Linked DNA regions of Homo sapiens: all the other regions are linked to region 3. The links are contacts of gene promoters, found by promoter capture Hi-C in blood cells and fetal thymus (Javierre and others, 2016). All regions are on one chromosome and are shown on one strand. The core of a region is centred on a gene start or on the middle of the fragment in contact, and the rest is flanking DNA. Distances in the headings are between cores, read along the strand shown.

Region 1 (5,553 bases), core at 3,054-5,553, 2.0 Mb after region 3:
CCTTAAAAGTGGCTGTTACTTCTTAAAAGAAGCTCCTCTTCTTTAGGTCAAACATCCCATTTTTTCAACTTTTTCTCATTTCCATTTCTCTCATGATCAAGGTCCTCGTTTATGCTCTACAGATAAGTGATTTTGACACTTAGGTGTCTACCACCTTGGAAATGAGAAAAATTAAGGTCCGTTCCTACCCTACTTAAGTTTGGGCCTCTGTGTGGCTTTTTATTAGCTCTCCAGATGATTCTGATAAAGTCTGAGAATGAATACAAGGTCTCACTTATGATAGTATGCTACCCAAAAAGCCAACACAATACCCCAAATATAATATAACTAGTACACAGTAAAGTGGGGCTAACACCTTGCTCTGTCAATAAGCTGTTCTACCAACTTCAGAATTATTCACAGATGGGTGTGTTGGCTGACGCCTATAATCCCAACACTTGGGAGGCCAAGGTGGGAGGATCACTTGAGTCCAGAAGTTTGAGACCAGCCTGGGCAACACAGTGAGATCTCGTCTCTACAAAAAATTAAAAAATTAGCCAGACATGTTGGCAGGTACCTGTAGTCCCAACTACTCAGGAGGCTGAGGCAGAGGCAGGATCGCTCGAGCCTGAAAGGTGGAGCTTGCAGTGAAGTATAATCGCACCACTGCACTAAGCCTGGGTAACAGAGAAAGCAAGACCCTGTCAAAGAAAGAAGAGGTGCAAAGGGGAAAACAGGGAGGGAAGGAGAGAGAGGGAGAGGGACAGAGGGAGAAGGAGAGAGGAAAGAGGGAGGGAGGGAGGGAGGGAGGGAGGGAGACAGAAAGGTGCACTAGCCCACCAACTGAACTGACAGCTGATTGCACCAAAGCATCTTCTTTGTATAGAGCACTGTGATGTCAACACTGAGAAAAAACACAGGCCCTAATACTGATCTCATCTAGTGCTAGATTTACCTTCTAGAAAGCATGATGGAACAAACATCTTCAGAAAACTATAATACTAATTGTAGCTATCCCAATGTAGGCACATCAGAGCTATAGAAACATTGTGATTACTAGCTGGAAACCATACTAGTTGTTGGGGAGGAGAGGGGAGCAGAGGGATGACACTAAGGAAACTAAGTTGCTCTCAACTTCAAGATTTTGTGTGGGTTTGTTTTTCAACGTTTGCAAAGTCAGAAGAGATGGAGGCCATCAGTGAGTTCATCTGAACTCAGGCTACTTGCAAACAGAGACTGGGTAACTGCCTCGTGCACCCTCAAAAATAAATTCATGATGCAAAACTTCATGTAATTTCTGAATTTCTGAATTCCTCATGACGTGCACTTTACCTGTTACCTGTTAATATTTCTGGTACTGAGGGGCAAAAGAAAAAAGTAAAAAAAAATTCATGGTACAGGAGATGTGGTCCATTACAATGACACAATGTTATGGGAAAAAACACACTAAAACCAAGCATACTTTTTTTTTTTTTTTTGAGACAGAGTTTCGCTCCTGTTGCCCAAGCTGGAATGCAATGGCGCTATCTTGGCTTATTGCAACCTTTGCCTCTCTGGCTCAAGCGATTCTCCTGCCTCAGCCTCCCGAGTAGCTGGGATTACAAGCGCGCACCACCACGCCCAGCTAATTTTTTGTATTTTTAGTAGAAATGGGGTTTCACCGCGTTAGCCAGGCTGGTCTCAAACTCTTGACCTCAGGTGATCGGCCCGCCTCCACCTCCCCAAGTGCTGGGACTGCAGGCGTGAGCCACTGTGCCTGGCCAAACCAAGTGAACTTAACCAAGATCCAATCTATTTTCGTTTGAACAGCAAACATTAAAAGTACACCTGGTATTTTCTAACAATTACACGAAGAATGACCAGATGCTTCCTGTTGATGGAACAGTAGAGAACTATAGACTGACAGATTCAGACTACAGTTCACAGAAACAACTGGAAACAAACTTAGCTTCCTTTCAAAGCCATTAAAATACGGCCTTAAATTTTTATGCATTAATCAATTAAGTATAATTGTCTCCCAATAAGTATAATTGTCTCCCAACCTAGAAAACCCAGAATGATTCAGAGAGACAAAGAACTCTAAGGATATGTCTCTGCAAACTGTTCGTTTCACCAAAGGATTCACTGCAGAATTAATTTTCTGTAAAATCTGTACCTCCTATAATTTTCAACATGTTCTATCTTTAAAGATAACATTTACACAAGTGTTGATAGCATATGTGGAATTCACGTGTTACTTGTGTAAATCATTATAAATATGTAATAGAATTAAATGTTTTAATCACTTAAGAATATCTTCGAATGTTCCTGAGTCTCCGAGATCATAGGCAGATTATGCAGTCTTCATCTGTGATTTTGTTTAGTCACCTAAATTCCAACTTTTAAAAAAGTTAGAGCCCAGTAAAAAAAGTATGGGAATCAATCTTATTCAGTCTTGTTAAAATGTGTCTTGCATAACAGCTTGATTTGACTTGTATGGTGAAAGCACGGTAAGAATGACACATTTCTGTTTTTTGGTTTTTTTTTTAAAAAAGTATGAGTGTACAGTGGAGTGTTCCAGAGGTTACATGGTGTGCTAACCACAACAGTCTGACGTAGATCTGAGAATCTTCTATTAAACCAGGCATTAAAAAGATTTGCAAAAATGCAAGATGTCACTCTTATCATCTATGTTAACATGTAATGGATTTATTTTTTGTTTTTGGAAAAAAAAAACCAAGAGAAAAGAAAATAAAGTCATCTTTAGTTTCCTTAAATTCAAAGTCTGAGCCTGAAAATGGAAGTATCAAAGCTGATGGTTATACGTCAGTGAGAAAAAAATTTAAACCAAGCTGGGTGGGTCTTTACATGAGATAAACTATCTACAGGAAAGAATGACCACTAACTTCTGCATAATAAATGAGAGTGGATCTTTTAATTCTGAGATGGCAATGTACTTTACAAGGACCATTTACAGACTACATCAAACCTTTTTCTAGATAAAAAACGTACTTCAGTAACTTGCCTGAATTGAGAGAGCAAAACAGTCCGGAGAGAAAACTTAAAATGTTTCCACATTATCAAGCCCCCTTCAGAAGTACTGTGGTCTCGGCCCCTCCTTTGAACAGATGTCCGCTCGCCACAGTCCAATCAGGTTTAAAGCAAGAGTATTTGTACTGAAAACAAGCTTAAAGTGGGAAGACACACACAAAGCAGGCCTGTATCATTCCTTTGGTTTCAGTTTTCACGATGCACCCTTGAGGCTAGGCACGCTGATTCAACACACTTGGAGAGCTTCACCGAAACACACTAAACACACAGTGATGAACTGTGCCCTGGCAGAGATGACCTGGCAAAATTCTCAACTTCTTCCCTGAGGCAGTGCACCCGCAGTTCTCGGCGGCGAAGTCTTTGGGGCAGAAGTCCCGAGCCTTCAGAACGGCAGGCTTCTCCCCCTCAGGACTCCAGTCCCCGCGGCCAAGGCTGTCGCTGCGGGGGCCCCGCGCGGGACTGGCCAGGCTCTTCCATTAACCCTGTCTGGTCCGGCCGATCCCGCCGCGACCCGAGCGCCTCTCGGCCCCGCAGCACAGGGCGCCCAGGACCCGCCACCCTCGCCGCCCGTTCCCCTCTCCGGAGAGCCCGGCGGGGCCGTCAGGCTGCCGAGACAAAGGGTACCGCGGCGCCAGAGGCCGAGGCCCAGCCGCGCCTGCCTTCCTCTTTCTCCCGCCCACTGCCAACCTCCAGTCGCCCGCAGAACCTCCGCTGCCTCGGCGCGACCCCATCGCCACCCCGGGGCTGCCGCTCGGGACCGGCAAGCCGGGTAGCCGCGAGGCGGCCGCGGCATGCTAGGGCCGAGGAGGGGGCGGCGGCCGCCACCATGTCTGCCCGCCCCTCCCAGAAGCAGTGTGCCCAGCGGACAAAGCGCAGCGGCGGCGCGGGCGCCCAGGCCGACCCCGCCGACCCCCGCGGAATAAGCGGGGCCAGGAGCCCCGGAAACCCGGCGCCTTAATGCAATAAACAGGAAATCGCGGGGATGATCTGGGTTCCGGGGGAAGTGGAATTATTTTTTACCAGCGAAGAGATCAACTTCCACATCCGGTGGTAACAGGGCCCTACACAGACCCGCACTGACCTGGAAAAGCTTCGGGAGCGGCGACGGGAAGGCAGCAGGAGGTGGTGCGGGGACCCGAGGCGCCTCGTACCCGGCCGGGCTGACGCGGCCCCGCTACACACAAAGCGCTTCAGCTGCACAGGGCGCTATTTTCCGAAAATGCCGCGTCTGGTCGGCGCCCAAAATCCCCACCGAAAAGTCCCCCGTGCTGCGCGCGGAGGGACACATGGTGTGCGAGTGAGTCAAGCTCCCAGCATCCCTCCCGGACCCGGCCCTCTTCAGCTCATCGCCCGAGGATTTTCCGCCTCTGCCCTCGTCGGCAGATCCTGCTCCTACCCACTCCCTAGCTGTGTTCCCGCGGGGAGAGAGGGGAAAGAGGGTCTGATTTTTTAACGAAGGGAAAGAAAATATGCCATTTCTAGCGCTTCAGCCACACAAAGAAAGCGGCGGAATGATCCGCTCTCGGCGACCGCAAGTCCCGGCTCGCCCGGCGCCTGCGCGGCAGCGGGGGTGGGAGCTGCGGACGGCCATGTGCGCGGCGGAGAGGCCGGGTGGCCACCGAACCTTCCCGCCTGTTCTGCGGTGGGTAGGAGTTTGGAAACTAATGTTCCTGTGCTAACCTTCGTGTCTCTGTGACATGACTGTTGAAAGACGGAGAGTGCGGAATCTTTGGAGTTTTAAGCTTGCCAACTGTGCGGCCTAGCAGAATCCTGGGAGACGGAAGGACAGCCAAGAGGCTAGGATTTACCTTTAAGTGTCCCTAGATTCAACTAGGCAGACTGGGACGGGAGACGCTGTGAAGGTACCAGGGAAGGAACGAGTGAGGTTCCTTTTCCACTTTTTCATAAACTCAACAGTCAGGTTCATGACGAAGATATAGATATTTCTGTAGATTTTTTCCCCAACATTCTAATTATGCCTCATGTTTCGTAGATCCTAGTAACTGCTTGGATTACTGCCACCTCAGAGGTAGAGATCTGTTTTTCCGTGGCTGGAATGCCAAAAATTTTGTTGTATTTTATTAAGAAAGTAGCAAAAGTTTGGAGATTTGCAAAGTTAAAAAAAAAAAAAGCATTATGAACTTAATCTAGATGTGATTTGCTAAGGAACTTAATATATTGATATGTTTTTCACAGGGGCGTCTGGGCATGGCTTTCCCAACCTAGTAACTGCAACTTTTAGCATCCTACATGTAGGACTTGGGAATATGTGAGACAGCGCCAAGAATTTAATCCAGGAGAATTGACAAGCTTAAATGAAATCCATATTGCCCACTGATTTTGTGCAGCTTCAGATAAGTAATCTTTCTCCACTTAGCCTTTTGTAACAATTGATGTAATAAAGGTTTGTAGTCTTTGTGTAATTTATTAAAGCATTGTGCCTAAAATAGAAAAAAAGCATAGGAACCATAGGCTGTGTTTTCTTTTGATTTAATATTTTCATTTCTTCAGTTAATAGAAATTTGCCAAATTCTGATGTTTTTC
Region 2 (4,882 bases), core at 1,223-3,722, 2.1 Mb after region 3:
ACATGGCAACAATGTAGACAGGCCATGAGTTCTCCACATGGCCCTAATCCCCACCACTCTTAAACAAATCTAATCAGTTTTATGTATATTATATATGTATATTGCTGTGCTTCTCCTTCCTGCCTGACCCTGCAAGACCCCTGTCTCAGTCTCTCTCAACATGTCTGAAGGACTCGAGGGCAGGTGTCAAAGGTGAAGGCCCTCATCTGGATTTAATGTCCTGGACCTTGAAACAGCAGCTAGTGTTTTGAGCTCTAAGCTAACACTTTGGACTTTCTTTTTTTTTTCGAGATGGAGTCTTGCTCTGTCGCCCAGGCTGGAGTGCAGTGGCACCATCTCGGCTCACTGCAAGCTCCACCTCTCGGGTTCACGCCATTCTCCTGCCTCAGCCTCCTGAGTAGCTGGGACTACAGGCGCCCTCCACCACGCCTGGCTAATTTTTTGTATTTTTAGCAGAGATGGGGTTTCACCGTGTTAGCCAGGATGGTCTCGATCTCCTGACCTCGTGATCCGTCCGCCTTGGCCTCCCAAAGTGCTGGGATTACAGGCATGAACCACCGCGCCTGGCCACATTTTGGACTTTCAGTCATGTTTTCTTTCCCCAATGAAATAGAAAAGTTTTATTTCAAAGAGGAAAAGGGTGCAACAGCTGCAACATACATAAAACCTATTTAGTTTTACTTGGGAGTGGGAATCAGGAAACCTGGGTTCTGTTTTTGACTTAGTTTGGATAAAGAAGGGTAGTTAAGCTGTCCTTATGTCTCTTACCAAATGGAGAAAATACTGCTGTAGTTCACAGCAATTTGGGGAGTTTTAGATTCTATGGAAAATGGAAATCCTATTTGTAACTTAGATTTTTTCTTTGGAGAAGGAGTCTCGCTCTGTTGCCCAGGCTGGAGTGCAGTGGCACGATCTCGGCTCACTGCAACCTCCACCTTCCAGGTTCAAGCGATTCACTGACTCAGCCTCCTCAGTAGCTGGGATTACAGGCACGCGCCACCATGCCCAGCTAATGTTTGTATTTTTAGTAGAGACCAGGTTTTGCCATTTTGGCCAGGCTGGTCTCAAACTCCTGACCTCAAGTGATCTGCCCACCTTGGCCTCCCAAAGTGCTGGGATTACAGGCGTGAGCTACCGCTCCCGGTCTAATTTTTAAATTTTTGTTTTGTAGAGATGAGGGTCTCCCTTTGTTGCTCAAGCTGGTCTCTGTCTCTTGGGATCAAGGGATCCTCCTGCCTCAGCCTCCCAAAGTGCTGGGATTACAGGCCTGGGCCACTGCAACCTGGCCTTCATCACAAATTCATTGAACACACTTTCTTTATTTTATCCTTTTTTATTTTTAAAAATTTTTATTTCAGTAGTTTTGGAGGAACAGGTTGCATGGAAAAGTTCTTTAGTGGTCATTTCTGAGATTTTGGTGCACCCATCACCCGAGCAGTGTACACTGTACCATGTGGCACACACTTTCACTTAAAGCATTTACTAGACCTCGCTAGCCAGATTTCCCATCCCTGAGACACCTGGAATGTTCCTGAGGACTTAGTGACTACTGCCTAAAGCTCCACCCAAGTCAATTTTATGTTTACAGGCAACCGGAGCATCCAATCACCTTTCTCTAAGAGAGTACAAAGATCAGCTCGCGAGAAAGTTCAGACGTCTCATTTCGTTTCTATTACACGGGGCCTTCGCCCAACCAGACGGAGTCTTGCTCTGCTGCCCAGGCTGGAGTGCAGTAGCGCGATCTCGGCTCATTGCAACCTTCGCTCCCCGGGTTTAAGCAATTCTCCTGCCTCAGCCACTGGAGTAGCTAGGATTACAGGCGCACGCCACCACGCCAAGCTAATTTTTTGTATTCTTAATAGAGACGGGGGTTTCACCATGTTGGCCAGGCTGGTCTCGAACTCCTGACCTCATCATTTGCCCGCCTCGGCCTCCCAAAGCGCTGGGATTACAGGCGTGAGCCACCGTGCCCAGCCTCGCCGGGGCCTTTTAAGTGACGTTAAAAATTGTACATAAAATATGTTTTAGGATAATACTTGTTTTTCTTTGACCAAAGGCTTGGCTTCAGAGAATGTTTAGCCAGAAATAGAGGGGCGTTAAATCCCCTTTTTTCTAATTTCCAATCTGAGGAGGAAAATAACGTAGTAAAGGGACGCAAGAGCAACCTTGCTTCTTCCACAACAAGGCCCAGGCGCCGCCTTGCAACCCGGAAATGCAGGGTGCAGTGCGGGGGGTAAGGGACCGGCCAACTATGTTGACCCGACTCAGAGAAACCCCGCCCTTGCCGCCACCGCCCACCCATAACGTCCTCCTCGACCCTCCCTCGACCATCCCTCGCCCCGCGGCCCTCACCGAAAAGGGGAGGGCGGTGGAAGAGAGAGGAGTCAAGGGAGCGCACGCGAAGCCCCGCCCCTGCCGTGACGTCTGGAGACGCGACGCGTCGCCTCGCAATGCAAATCGGGAAAAGGGGGTGAGCTGGGCTGGCTTCCGTCCTGGTAGCCAAGGCTAATTCTCCCTCGAGTTCTTGGGAGATGGGCATTTGGCGAGAAGGCTGGCGTTAGTGAAGCGCGCCCGGCGTCACGGTGAGTGCGGGTCTTGGGCCCTAGCACCTGTTCTCTGGGAAGTCGTCCGCTGTGAACGATGAACGCCTTTCCTTCCACCAGCTGCTGGTTACCCCGGAGACAAGCTCTGTCCGCGGAGAGGAGTGGGACAACTCCTAAAGGTAGAATCAGCTTGTGGAGAGGAAAGGCCCAACCTTGAGTCTTTTACGCCATCTACCTAGGATTGCCAAGCGAGTTTCGTGTGTTTTTTTGGTTTTAAAAGGTGGCTTTGACCAATCTTCCGTTCTCTTGGACACTTATACCCGACTTTGACCTCTTTCCTCTTGCTTCCGGTTTTTTTTTTTTTCTGCAATCTGCCTACAATCCCAGGCCTTACTGTAGCTCCTAAAACTGTTTCCCAGTTTCTCTTCTTCCCCAGTCACACTTGATTTTAGTGAAGTTTGAGTTTAAAGACCCTATAAGCTTGTCAGAGTTAAAACTATGACTTCCTCAAATAGAAGATTTTTTTTTTTTCCCCTAAAAAGTGCCTTCCATCCTAGAGTTGTGGGACAAGTTAATTTCACCGCCACTCCACCTTGGAAATTATCAGAATCCTTACTAGCAGTGATGTGCATTATAAAGCTGCAGACCACCCTCCTGGGTTTATTTCTTGCCTCCAGTTCATTCTGTGACCTTGAACAAGTCACTTAATCACTAACAAAAAATTTACCTGACACGGAGGTGTTGCAGAGCCTAAGGAATTTAGTATTTGTTAAGAGACCTGAGGGTTTCAGATGAAAGGGATTTATATCTAAAGGATGTTACCTTTTCTGAATCTGCAAAGCATCGTTAGTTTTGTAAATATCTTGCTGCAGCCATTAAAAATGCCAAGTGGTATTTGTTAAGGAAGTATTCCTGTTTTAGGCTTGCTCTGCTGCGGCTTTGCTATGTAAGCAGATTTTTGCATTTCAGCCGATTCTGTTTAAGATTCGTTGGTGAATGTCATTCATGATGGATTTGGGTAGTTTCTCCTTACAGCATATCCCTGGACTATTAAGCATATCTGGAAGGTGATATCGGTTGTGTTATGTCTTTATCATGTTGATATGGCTGCTTTGAAATATGTATTCCTTTTCTTGTGACACATTGGATGCATCTTTAATATTAGTGAAGACCCTGTAGTAGTTTAAAAAAAAAATACACCTCTCATTAATGAAATTTTGCACATAGACATCTGTTTTTTTAAGAAAACAATGTATAAGAAAAACTAACAAAAATGTTTTAAAGGTGCCTTTTTTAGCATTTCGTTTTTTAATATATTTACTTGGACTTTAATCTTTATGGGCATTTGTTTATTAATGTGGACGTGGCTGGGCGCAGTGGCTCACATCTGTAATCCTAGCACTTTGGGAGGCGGAGGTGGGCGGATCACTGAGGTCAGGAGTTCGAGATCAGCCTGGCCAACATGGCGAAACCCGGTCTCTACTAAAAATACAAAATTAGCTGGGCGTGGTGGTGCACGCCTGTAGTCCCAGCTACTCTGGAGGCTGAGGCAGGAGAATCGCTTGAACCTGGAAAGCGAAGGTTGCAGTGAGCCGAGATTGCGTCATTGCACTCCAGCCTGGGTGACAAGAGCAAAACTCCGTCTCAAAAAATAAAAAATAAAAAGCGTGGACATAATGGAAAATAATCAAAATGACTTTTGGGTAAGACAGTTGGAAAATAAAGCCAGTACATTAAATTTTTTTCATAAGTCTAGCACTATATTACGAACTTTTCTCCATGAAAATGCACTCATATTTATGGAAGTGAAAGGAAAAAAATGTCTTCAGGTATGTGTTGCTAATAAAATTAGATATAATTAAGGAAACATTTAAAAAATACCTTGTTGTTGTCCCAGTTACCTATTGCTGCATAACAAATCACTCCAAAACATAGTGACTTAAAACTGTAATTTAGTATCTCTCCTGTTTCTCTGGCCTGCCTGGACTTAGCTAAGTGGTTTTCACCTAGAGTTTAATGCGTTTGTATTCAGATAAGCAGCTGAGTTTGGAGTCAACCGAGAGCTCAGCTGGTCTGGACATCCAAAATGGCTAATTCACGTGAAGGCGTTTGATGTTGGCTAGGAGTTCAGCTGGAAATGTCAACTGGAATGCCCACACATAGCCTCTTCACGTGACTTGAACAGTATGGCGGCTAGGTTCCGAGAATACATGTTTGAGGAGTCAGGAAGTAGAAGCTGCCAGTCTCCCAAAAAGCCTGAGCCCAGAAATTCGCACAACATTACTTCCAACATACTCTGTTGGTTAGAGCAAAGACCAGCGTACAACCCTCACCTTTGA
Region 3 (5,627 bases), core at 757-3,256:
TTTTTACACAGGCAGGAGTTTGTGAAGAGCTGAATTGATTTCCCCAGAGGCTTGAAGATGATATAATTTTTTATCCCGAATTTTGGGCTTTTTTTTTTTCATCTGACTACTGTGCCCAGTTCTTAGAACCATTAAGGTAGGAGAAAAGTAATGCTGAGAGGGAAGGAGATTTTATACTAAATCCCAAGCATTGGGATTTATTTTAAAGTATCTCAGATAATTCAAACATGAGAACTATTAGTCTAAGCACAGGAGAAGAGAAAGTAGTGCCTGATGATAGCAACAGAAAAAAAAGGAAAAGGAAAGTAGGTATGGACAATTGTAGCTGGAAAAACTACAGTCTCTTAATTTTGATGAATAAAAGTAGAGTGATATAGTTTGACTAGACCTTTCCAAAGTATATTTTGGAGCACTTTCTTGAGTCCTAGGGGAGTCCTTGATTTAAGATACCTTAAGTAGACTCCTAATAAACACAGGTGACTTTCTGTATACTGAAATTGACATGGAAATAATGGATCAGCAATAAATTAGGGCTTAACTGTTTAAAGAGGGATTTCAGTGAAAGAAGGGGTAGTACTGCTTTACCAGAGTTAATTAAGGTCTCCAAAGTAAACTTCCGGTTCTGCTCATTGTAAAATCTCTTAAATTTCTACCCAGGAGAGGGCCACAGTAATATCAAGAGTAGCAGCATTTGCTATGTGGACTTTAGAGGAATTCTGTTCCTAAGCAAGGTCCATCTCCAGGGGCCGTTCACGGTGATCAGCTGTCTCCCTCAGCCAGGAAATTCATAGCCTAAGCTTGGTAAACTACCAAGCCCTGCCTGACAGATACAACACAGTTCTTTATCTCTTATTTTGTCCACCCGTTTTTCTCCTTTCCTTCTGCATATTTTCCCTAATCACACAGATCATTGTGAGAATAAAATGGGTTAATATATGTAAACCAATTAGAACTGTTCCTGGCACACAGTAAAGGCTTAATCAATGATAGCTAGTATTATTAGTAGTATTTGGCCTTTTTTCTTTGTTCTTTCTTCATTTTTTTCCTTTTCAAACTATGGTTGTAAAGCATCCACCTTTTGAAAGTTTGCCTTTCTGCCCTTTCACGCTGATAAGTACCTCAGTTTCCAATAAACTTTTGTTCAGGGGCAAACATTTACAATGTTGACATCTCTTCACACCACCAAAAATATTCATGGAGAATTATTTTATCTAAAGCTGTCTTTTTAATAATAAAATAGCCACCTCTACCTTCTTCATAAACTTTTAAGATGAATTGGTAATTCATCATAGCAAGGTTGATTTTAGAAACTAAAGTTGCATTAATTCATTAAATACACTGAAAGTAATTTTGTATGCTTGGTCACAAAGAAAATATAAAAACAATTTTATAAATAGATTTGCAGTTATTTTCTTTCAATATTTTCTTAGTGCCTATGATTACACAATACCACCTATGGAGAAAGCTGTTGTGAAAACGGACATTCAGATAGCGCTCCCTTCTGGGTGTTATGGAAGAGTGGGTAAGTCATTTAAGAAACAGGTAACTATTTGTCAAGTTCTCCTTTGTGATAGATTCTTCATGTTTCATTTGGGGTAATAAGCAGGCAATATTGCTTGGGCTGTGTCCTAAAAGAAGCACCATTTGTGATAGCAAATGCACTCTTTGAAAGGCTTTATTTACATCTCTGCTTTGCCTCTTTTTGACCCTTTTATTTTTCTCCTTCCTCACTGGAGCTTTTAGGCTCACACTGGCCTAGAAGGCTGTTCTCAGAACATGGCATTTTATATTATGAGAGTAAAACTTCTGACCTGTTGGTCCCAGAATGTGTAAGCCTACTTAACCTTTTCTTGTTTGGCCATGGGGTTAGGGTAAGGGATACTCTTCAGTGTTGTAGAGGCACTGGGAGGAGCTAGGACAAAATGGAGTACACGTCAACAGGTTTGATTTTTCTGGAGCGGATCAGTTGTTACCAGACAGTTCTTTGCAAGAGCGTAAGTTCTTTTTGACTAACTTCAGAGTAAACATAAAGGAGGCAATGGAGCTGTGACGCCCTCCTCCAGGGAAAGGAGCTAGACTGGCACTATATTATTAGCCATGAGTGAGGAAACTGCCAGTACTTCAGCCCTTAAAAGATAACAAGATGGGCTCTCATCTCATCTCTTGAGCATCATTGACTCCATTTTTTAGAATTTTTTCAGGGGAAGGGGCAGGAGATGGAGTGAAATAAAGGTTAGTACAGAAAGAGGCAGCATTATTGACAAAGTGCCTGATTTAAATTATTCTAAAATAAAATGCTGGAAGTTAGGATAATTAATTATAGGCCTGATGCTTGAGTCTGCAATAATAAGGTGTAACCTTAGCTTTTTATTTTTTTCATTTTTTAGGATTAAAAAGTATACTAGCATTGAATCATTGAGACTTAGTTTTTGGCATTTTTACTTAACTGATATTAGCCCATTTATCTTACTCTGGTTCATGTGTTTCCTACAGGCATGTCTTTTGGCATCTGAATCATGAATAGTGGGGTCCCAAGTTGTAGGCTATGGTCTGCTACTATTTGGTTAGGTTTGTTTCCCTCTCCCTTCCTCTTCCTTTCCCTTCCCATCTGCATTGTACATGTTGTGGTGTCCCATCTTAAAACCAAAGTCTTCTTCCTCAGTAGTGTGTTCCTGCTGGCCATACTTCTCTTTCTTCCCCTTTGAGGCTTAACTTCTTGAAAGAGCAGCCTACAGTTGTTCCCGCTTGCTCACCTTTCAGCTCATTCTAGCAGTCCTTCTCCCCTGTCTGCAGCACCACAAATTCTGACTGAAGTCACATGGGAGTGGTTTAAGTTAGTTTTGAATTAAAACCTTGTGGAATTTTTCTAAACTAGTCTTTCCAACTTTGGTAATGCAGTATGATGAATATATATTCTTTAATTCAAAACCATGTGCTAAAGTTAAGATGAAGATATAGATATTATAGGTGAAGAGAATGACATGCTTAAATTGCATCAGTTATCTCTGATATAGCCCTTCCCCCTTAAAATAACCAATGTCTCCTTTTTTGTTTTTTAGCTCCACGGTCAGGCTTGGCTGCAAAACACTTTATTGATGTAGGAGGTAATATATTTCCTTTTTTATTCTGTAAATGTTTGCAAGTATTTACTTTGTCTTTAAAAGGTAATATTCAAATGACAGATTTTATTTTTAAGAAAAGAAAATGATTAGAGGAAAGCTTGTTATAATAGGAGGAAAAGCTTTGTGGTTATTTTAAGTAATTATATTTTGTTTAACTACTAACTTAATTTTTAAAATAATGATTACCTAATTAATAATGACAGATTTAATGATATAATAATTAAGTAATTATTTAAGCAACAAAAGTTCTAGAAAACACAGGTCTATCTTGTAAGAATTTTCTTCATAAGAGAGCTATCTGTCTTTAGCAAAATTTAAGAAGAAAATCTTTCCCTGAAGTCAGGAGAGAAAACACTTTTCTCTAAATTTGTTAAGACAGTCCTCTGTGTTACCTGTTTCCCTTATAATAAAGCCTTTCTCATGTTTGTCTCAAAGTTAACCCTACCTCATGTGGTACCTTTCATGAAGAACCCTCAGTGTCCTCTGCTAACTACTCTTGATACAGAGCTACTCCTCTTATTGTAAGGAAATTTCTACTTTCCTGATGTGGTTTCCTTGTTTCAGGTCCGCTCCAACTGGGATTCAGACCCCACTTATGTGGTCCTTACATACTGACCCTTTATCCCATCAGTAGTGAATCTTTCACTTAACAAGATACCTTGGCCCCCACATAAGTAGGTGTGCTAGATCTCCTCCTCCACCCGTTTTTACAGAGCTGCTTTATGGAGGCTTGTTAACAGATCAGGAAAACTGGCTTAGAAATGAGCCCACATGGATATGTGGTAAAAACTGGAGTCTCTGTGTGATTCCAGCCTCCTTGTTCTTTCCACTGCAATTAATTGTGGAGATTACCCTGCTGCATCCCCCTCACCAACTAAACACGTCCAGAATTAGCTCACTTTTATGTGCCACTGCAAGGGCTAACTAAGCACTTAATGAAACCTGGCTATCCTAGACCTGCCCCTTAGTCTAACATTTGGTGGGTGTGGTGTCTCTCCATAGTGTCACCAGGTGGTGCTGTGGGACAAGACAGGACCCCAAAAGTACACCCTTTAGGGACTAAAGGGGAGCTGAGTTTTACATAGCAGGGTGGACATTGACAGCCCACTCTTGGGTTGAGGATTCCTTGGGCTCTGTAAGTTATGCCCGATGTTCAAAAATGCTTTTACAAGGTCAACTGTGGTCATTTTGGGACAGTAACTTAAGGATATAAATAATTGTATATATTTTCAATGAAGTTTCAAATGATTGTTCAAGGAACGGGAGCTTTGGAATAACAACTGGATGTAGGTCCCAGCTCTGTCATTAACTAGTTATTACTTAACCTTTCTGAGCCTGTTTCCTCATTTTACAATGGAAATTAGTGTGCCTGCCTCTAGAGGTAGGAGGATTAAATGATAATGTGTATGAAATACCTAATATAGTACTTGGCACATATTAGATTCTGTGAGATATAATTTCTGTCCTTAGGGACTTCACAGATTGTTTTTATGTGGAAACTTTTTCTTTTATTCGACTTTGTTACTAATTTTTGCTCTGTTTAAAACAACTTTCTGGAAAAAAATTCATGTAAAAGAATGGAAAGTTAGTTTGCCTAGTGGTTGGTATGGTGTTATTCATAAAATCACATTGTGGTGTGTTCTTGGATGCAGAGAATCTTAACAATCTCCCTTAGGCACAAGTTTATCATAGTTGGCAACAGTTTTTATTTCTGAAGAGAGATGTTGTTAGAAATCCCAGGCTCTAAATAAGGGTCAAAGGGAAAAGTTGAGCATTCAGGATTCTGTTCAGAATTCACATCTGGTAGGTGTGGATAGTTTTTCACTAAAAAAGGTTTCCAACAAATGACATGCCAAACTCTTGACACAGTAAAACTTTTGCCTGAAGTCAGTTAATCACTCTGCCAGTTCCAATGCATGATTTTTCCAGTGATAACTTCAAGTTACTTTCTGCTTTCTCTGAGGAGAAATATCCCTGATACTTATATCCTGTAGGCAGAGAAGGCTTTTCTTGGAGGTCGAATGGCAATTGGGTGGTAAATGAATTTGGAACTACTGAAATTTTTATACCGTCAACATTCATGCAAAAAAAAAAACTATTGAGGGCCTTTTTTTCTGCCATACATTTGAATTGACTTCAAACTTCTTAATTTCTTTTAGTCACTTAAAGGTTTTTCACATTTTCGTGGCCCAAGCATAAAGATCACCTATCTGCAGGATTCAAGACACCCAATCATTTGAGTAGTTCTGATAGGACTGCTTTACAGATACGTTAGCAGAGGCCTTTCAAAAAGGGAGTGTTTTTGTATGTTAGAAGATACTATAAAGCCAACAAGCAAATATTTGCAACTTATATGAAAAAGAACAAATGAGAAAAAAACATACACAAAATATAGACAAGGACATGCAAATGTCCAACAAATGGGAGGAAAAAAATCCAGCCTCACTAGTCATCAGGGAATGAAAAGTAAGGCAATGAGATAGCCATTTTGTACTCATCATATTG
Region 4 (5,407 bases), core at 1-2,500, 2.7 Mb before region 3:
TACAGTCTGCGTTTGTATTGTATTGTTCATGATGATTTTGCCATAGATACAGTCAGTCTCTTTGATTAAAGATAGAAAGTATCAGTTGAAAACATTTAAAAAAATAATATTCAAGGCTGGGCATGGTGGCTCACGCCTGTAATCCCAGCACTTTGGGAGGCCCAGGAGGGCAGATCGCTTGAGGCCAGGAGTTTGAGACCAGCTTGGCCAACATGGTGAAACCTCATCTCTACTGAAACATACAAAAATTAGCCGGGCATGGTGGCACACACCTGTAGTCCCAGCTACTCAGGAGGCTGAGACACCAGAATTGGTTGAACCCATGAGGCAGATGTTGCAGTGAGCCGAGATTGCTCTACTCACTGCGCTCCAGCCTGGGCAACACAGTGAGACTCTGTTTCAAAAAACAACAACAACAACTATATATATATATATATATATATATATTCAAAATTCATAAAACCAAATAAGTGTAAAAGAAACTCAAACTTTCAAGGGTTTATTTTTGTTTGTTTTTTTGAAAGCTTCTAGCACTTGCACTTCTCAGGTTATGAGACTTTTGGGACACCCTGTATTTATTGTAAAAAGGGTTACTGAATCTGATATGGTGGAGAACCACTCACTGAGACTTTACATCAACCTGGAAAGAGCCGCCAACTGAAAATGTCCAGTCATGAATATGGGATGGGACACTGTGGAGGCCAGTGGCTGGAAGCCAGCTTACCCCTGCCTGCGCGTTTTGAAGGAAGGGCTCCAGCGCACACCAAAGCTGAACCTCGGTCACCTTCTCTGTGAAATGAGCGCGGGAATACCTGTGTTTCTGGGCAGCTGTGTGAACCCGGTGAGAAGCCCAGGGCACATAGGAGGACCCAGTGGGAACAGCCAGAGCCTCTCTGCACAGCGCCCCGCCTCCGCTTTTGCCTGCCCTGATTACAAAACGCTGTTGGCACCCAGGGGCGGAAGCGTCAGGTGGCCTCGGTGTCCTCCGCCTGTGCGCCCCAGCCTGCGGGGCCGCCCTTCAGGGCGCGCAAGGGGCGAGTCTGTCCAGCCGGCAGCACCCCAGGCCGGATGGACGCTTGTTCCTGGTTCTGTGCCCCGTGAGCGCTCAACGCCCTGGTGTGTTCACTGACCATGGTGCCTGGGCTGCGGCGCCGGGCGGGGCACGGCGGGACTTTTCGGGACCTTTCCTGGGGGGAGCCTCGCTTTCCCCGCCTCCAGCCTCCGCCCGGATGGCAGGCGGGCGGGGCCCCAGTCCAGGCCTTGAGACCCAGAAGGGAGCGAAGGTTTTTGCTGCGCCAACGCAGTGACCGAAGGCTCCGCTCACGCCCGGGTAAGAGGCATCCGCGGCCGATCTTTGGCCCTGGGCCAGCGGAGGGAGACTGGGCGGGGACAGCGACCACCACTGAGGCTGTTTGTTAGCTTAACTCGGTTTCCGCAGCTGGGACTCCGCAGACCCGGTGCGCCGCGCCCCAAACTTTGCTTCCTCAACTCCGGACACCTGCAGCTCTTGCTGCCCTTGTCTGGAACCCGGGTCTTGGGACTCTTGCTTCCTTCTCAGAGTGTCAGAGCCTCAGGGCCGCGGAGAGGCCAACCCGCGAGGGGTGCTTAAAAACCGAAGTATCCGTGGTCTTGGTGTGTGGACGTTTCTGGCGCCTTCCACCTGTTGACTGTCACTCGGCACCGTCCTGGAGCGGGAGTGGGTGCTCGGCGTCCGGGGGCCAGGGATTGACACAGTCATCCACCGACACTGCGCGTGGGACAGAGGGGGCGCTCGAGGGGTCGGCTGCAGCTGAAACCTGAAGGGGAGAGGATTTAGGGCACCTGCTGAACAGGAATTGGTGGAAAGGGAGAAGGGGTCTTCTGGTGGAATCTGGGCTCATTTCCTTTCCTCTTCATCTGTCTCTTTTATTTATCAAAATTCCAACCTGGCTTTTTGCTCAAAGACGCTGAACAGAGCCCCTGGCTTTGCCTGCGCTGCCCATTGCTATAATGCAGGGCTCTGTTCCATTTTTGTGCTGTGCACCCCTTTGGCATTTCTGGGAAGGCTAAAGACTCTCAGAACAATACTTTTTTTTGAGACAGAGTCTTGCTCTGTCGCCCAAGCTGGAGTGCAGTGGCGCGATCTCGGCTCACTGCCACCTCCACCTCCCGGGTTCAAGCGATTCTCCTGCCTCAGCCTGCCGAGTAACTGGGATTACAGGCGCAGCACACCTGGCTAATTTTAGTATTTGTAGTAGAGGCGGGTTTCACCATGTTGCCCAGCTGGTCTCGAACTCCTGGCCTCAAATGATCCGCACACTTCGGCCTTCCAAAGTGCTGGGATTACACGAGTGAGCCACCGCGCTGGACCAGAACAATGCTTTTTTAAAGGTATAAAACAAAAGGAAGAGTATTATAAAGGAAACCAATTGCAAAACACATGTCAAAACATTAAAAGAATTTATGATATGGTAATATATATGTCTTTAAAAAACGAATGCGTTATTTAATAACAAGGTTATTAAATAACAAGATCTAGCAGTGGATTAAATAGTTACCATAATTTTGAAGTAGTAAAGAACATAAACAATTATTTCAAGATATAGGTAATACTTGTAATATAAGAAAATATCTGTAATTTCTTTCTTCTTTTTTTTTTTTTTTTGAGACGGAGTCTCACTCTGTCACCAGGCTGGAGTGCAGTGGCGCGATCTCGGTTCAATGCAACCTCCGCCTGCTGGGTTCAAGTGATTCTCCTGCCTCAGCCTCCCGAGTAGATGGGACTACAGGTGTGTGCCACCACACCCAGCTAATTTTTGTATTTTTAGTAGAGACAGGATTTCACCATATTGTCCAGGATGGTCTCGATCTCTTGACCTTGTGATACGCCCACCTTGGACTCCCAAAGTTCTGGGATTACAGGCATGAGCCACTGCGCACGGCCAATATCTGTGATTTCTATTGGTGACAAAGTCTTAGTATTGCCAATACTGCTGTGGTTTGTTGGCTACATACATAATTGAAGTAAATGTTAAATTTCAGTTAGATACTAGAGAAATAAAAGATGTAAATATTAAATATCCGTAAAAATAAAGATGTAAAATACTTTTCCATCTAAGTTTTTGGGTCCAGGTTAAGATCCTCTGATAGTAGAAAGGGCACTGACCCAATGACTTGGCTTCTGGGCTTGACACTTCCATTGACATTTCCAAGGCCCATTGTAACCTTGGCTTTTTTTTTTTTTTGAGACATGGTCTTGCTGTGTCGCCTAAGCTGGAGTACAGTGAGGTGATCTCTGCTCACTGCAACCTCCTCGCAGGTTCGAGTGATTCGCCTGCCTCAGCATCCCTAGTAGCTGGGATTACACCAGCCACCCACCACCACACCTGGCTAATTTTTGTATTTTTTGGTAGAGACAGGGTTTCACCATATTGGCTAGGCTGGTCTTGAACTGCTGACCTCAAGTGATCTGCCCTTGTCTGCTTCCCAAAGCAACCACCACACCCAGCTTAACTTTGGCTTTTGAATTTCTTTTCGCCTCAGCTTCTTCATTGTACAGTGGAGATAATAACACCTTCCCAAGTATTTAAGGCACCCAGCACTGCACTTAGTGTAGAGGGCTGAAGTAGATACCATTTATCAGAACTTATTTGTATCCCTCCCAAGCTTATGGCCTTATATCCCCAAGCCTGGGGAGGTACTCATTATTTATTGAATGAATAAGTGGGTCAGAAAGGGTTGCTTGTGACTAAGTCCAAAAAACAAAATTCATTAAGGAGACAGCTGGTGGTTTGGGAAATGACTTTGTTTAAATTTGGGGCTTTTTTTCTGGCTGGAAAAATATATAAACACATTTGGAACGGGGGTGTTTGAAATGTCAGTCAGGGCCCAGGGTCTGTGTGTGCGTGTCTGTGTGGCTGGTGTTCTGCCAGTGAAAATGAAACTGAATGTTGAAAGGAAACCGGATTCCTTTGCAGAACAGTTTCTCCTCCATGTTGCCTGTGTCTAGCTTTGTTAATCCGATGTGTTGTAACACAGGAAATGTCTTATAAAGAATGGAGACGGACCCATGACAAGGCATTTCTGGGCATAGATGTACTTTTTTCTTCTCCTTTCACGTTTCCCTGCTCCACTATCTACTATATAACTCCTCTTTGACTCTGAAGACTTGGTAAATAGGAGCAGTTTGGATAGCTTATGGAAAGCTGCCCAGACCTGGCTGGAAGCCAACTAGTTGCTTCTTAATCCCAGCCTTAAAAATCTTTGTAATCCCCAGATGTAGGTGGTAATAATAATAAAGAAAAGTAGATCTAGCCAACCATCCCTGTGATTTACATTGAGAAAGTGCTAAATTGGGACAGGAGGTAGAGAACTTTGTGGAAAAAAACAAAACAGAACAAAAAAACCCTCGGAAATTTAGAACACACTGGGACTATCTATGTCTGTAACTTTGGGAAGGGCAAATACTGGTGTTATGGACTCACCAAATTCATATATTGAAACCCTAGCCCCCAGGATCTTAGAATGTGACTGTATTAGGAGATAGTGCCTTAGTTAGAAGTGGTGGTGAGCACCTGTAGCCCCAGCTACTTGGGAGGCTGAGGTGGGAGAACTGCTTGAGCTCAGAAGTTCGAGGCTAGCCTGAGCAACATAGCAAGACCTTGTCTCAATAAAAGAATAATTAGCCAGGCACGGTGGCTCACGCCTGTAATCCCAGCACTTTGGGAGGCCGAGGTAAGCAGATCGCTTGAGGCTGGGAGTTTGAGGCCAGCCTGGCCAACATAGAGGAACCCCGTCTCTACTAAAAATTCAAAATATTAGCTGGGTGGGGTAGTGTGCACCTGTAATTCCAACTACTCAGGGGGCTGAGGCATGAGACTTGCTTGAACCGGAGAGGAGGAAGTTGCATTGAGCCAAGATTATCATGCCACTGCATTCTAGCCTGCGCAACAGAGCAAGACTCTGTCTCAAAAAAAGAAAGAAAGAAAAAAAAAAAAGGAAAATTAAGTTAGGTCATTAAGGTGGAGCCCTAATCCAATATGAATAGTATCCTTATAAGAAGATGACTCGTCAGGAGCACATGTGCACAGAGAAAAGGCCACGCAAAGGCACACTGAGAAGGTGGCCATCTGCAAACCAGGGAGAGAGATCCCAGGAGAAACCAGTCTCATCAGCACTGAGGTCTTGGACTTTCAATCTCCAGAACTTTGAGAAAATAAATTTCTGTTCTCTAGACTTCATCTAGTCTATAGTGTTTTGTTATGGCAGCCCTAGAAAATTAATACAACTGGTTCTACCAAATGGACAATAGGTTTAAAAAAAATGGCTACAACTAGGCACCATCTCTTTTAAGTCATGATCCCGACATGTCCATCACTTGCTCTTAGGATCTCTTACCCAACCTATGCAGAAGAGTCTCCCATGTACT

The links. Contacts are between HindIII fragments. The CHiCAGO score rates a contact against its expected background, and 5 or more counts as called.
Region 1: the fragment with the promoter of GABPB1 here is called in contact with a fragment that was not itself captured in region 3 in 5 of 17 cell types (total CD4 T cells, fetal thymus, total CD8 T cells and 2 more); the score reaches 9.9 in total CD4 T cells.
Region 2: the fragment with the promoter of USP8 here is called in contact with a fragment that was not itself captured in region 3 in 1 of 17 cell types (fetal thymus); the score reaches 7.1 in fetal thymus.
Region 4: the fragment with the promoter of SQOR here is called in contact with a fragment that was not itself captured in region 3 in 3 of 17 cell types (total CD8 T cells, naive CD8 T cells and total CD4 T cells); the score reaches 8.3 in total CD8 T cells.

Annotation. Positions count from the first base shown.
Region 1 is chr15:50,350,895-50,356,447 of GRCh38, forward strand. It overlaps GABPB1 (GA binding protein transcription factor subunit beta 1), which reads right to left and starts at 4,304. Exons shown (of 9, transcript NM_016654.5): 1 at 4,091-4,304. It overlaps GABPB1-IT1 (GABPB1 intronic transcript), which reads right to left and starts at 3,985. Exons shown (of 1, transcript NR_026891.1): 1 at 1-3,985. GABPB1-AS1 (GABPB1 antisense RNA 1) reads left to right here and starts at 3,280. Exons shown (of 1, transcript NR_024490.1): 1 at 3,280-5,553. RefSeq lists enhancers at 3,288-3,347, 4,086-4,709, 4,778-4,857 and silencers at 3,478-3,687, 3,698-3,947, 4,528-4,577. The HindIII fragment of the contact is 652 bases long and covers 4,098-4,749 here.
Region 2 is chr15:50,421,933-50,426,814 of GRCh38, forward strand. USP8 (ubiquitin specific peptidase 8) reads left to right here and starts at 2,473. Exons shown (of 20, transcript NM_005154.5): 1 at 2,473-2,582. RefSeq lists enhancers at 1,296-2,292, 2,331-2,720 and a silencer at 2,171-2,220. The HindIII fragment of the contact is 13,730 bases long and covers 1-3,021 here.
Region 3 is chr15:48,332,987-48,338,613 of GRCh38, forward strand. DUT (deoxyuridine triphosphatase) reads left to right here. Exons shown (of 7, transcript NM_001025248.2): 3 at 1,431-1,522; 4 at 3,060-3,104. Among named protein-coding and RNA genes, the nearest start is that of DUT-AS1, 3.9 kb to the left of the region's middle. RefSeq lists a silencer at 4,031-4,100. The HindIII fragment of the contact is 2,422 bases long and covers 796-3,217 here.
Region 4 is chr15:45,633,779-45,639,185 of GRCh38, forward strand. It overlaps SQOR (sulfide quinone oxidoreductase), which reads left to right and starts at 1,251. Exons shown (of 10, transcript NM_021199.4): 1 at 1,251-1,330. RefSeq lists enhancers at 395-1,390, 1,853-1,942, 1,973-2,022, 3,852-3,931, 3,962-4,021 and a silencer at 1,203-1,372. The HindIII fragment of the contact is 3,121 bases long and covers 523-3,643 here.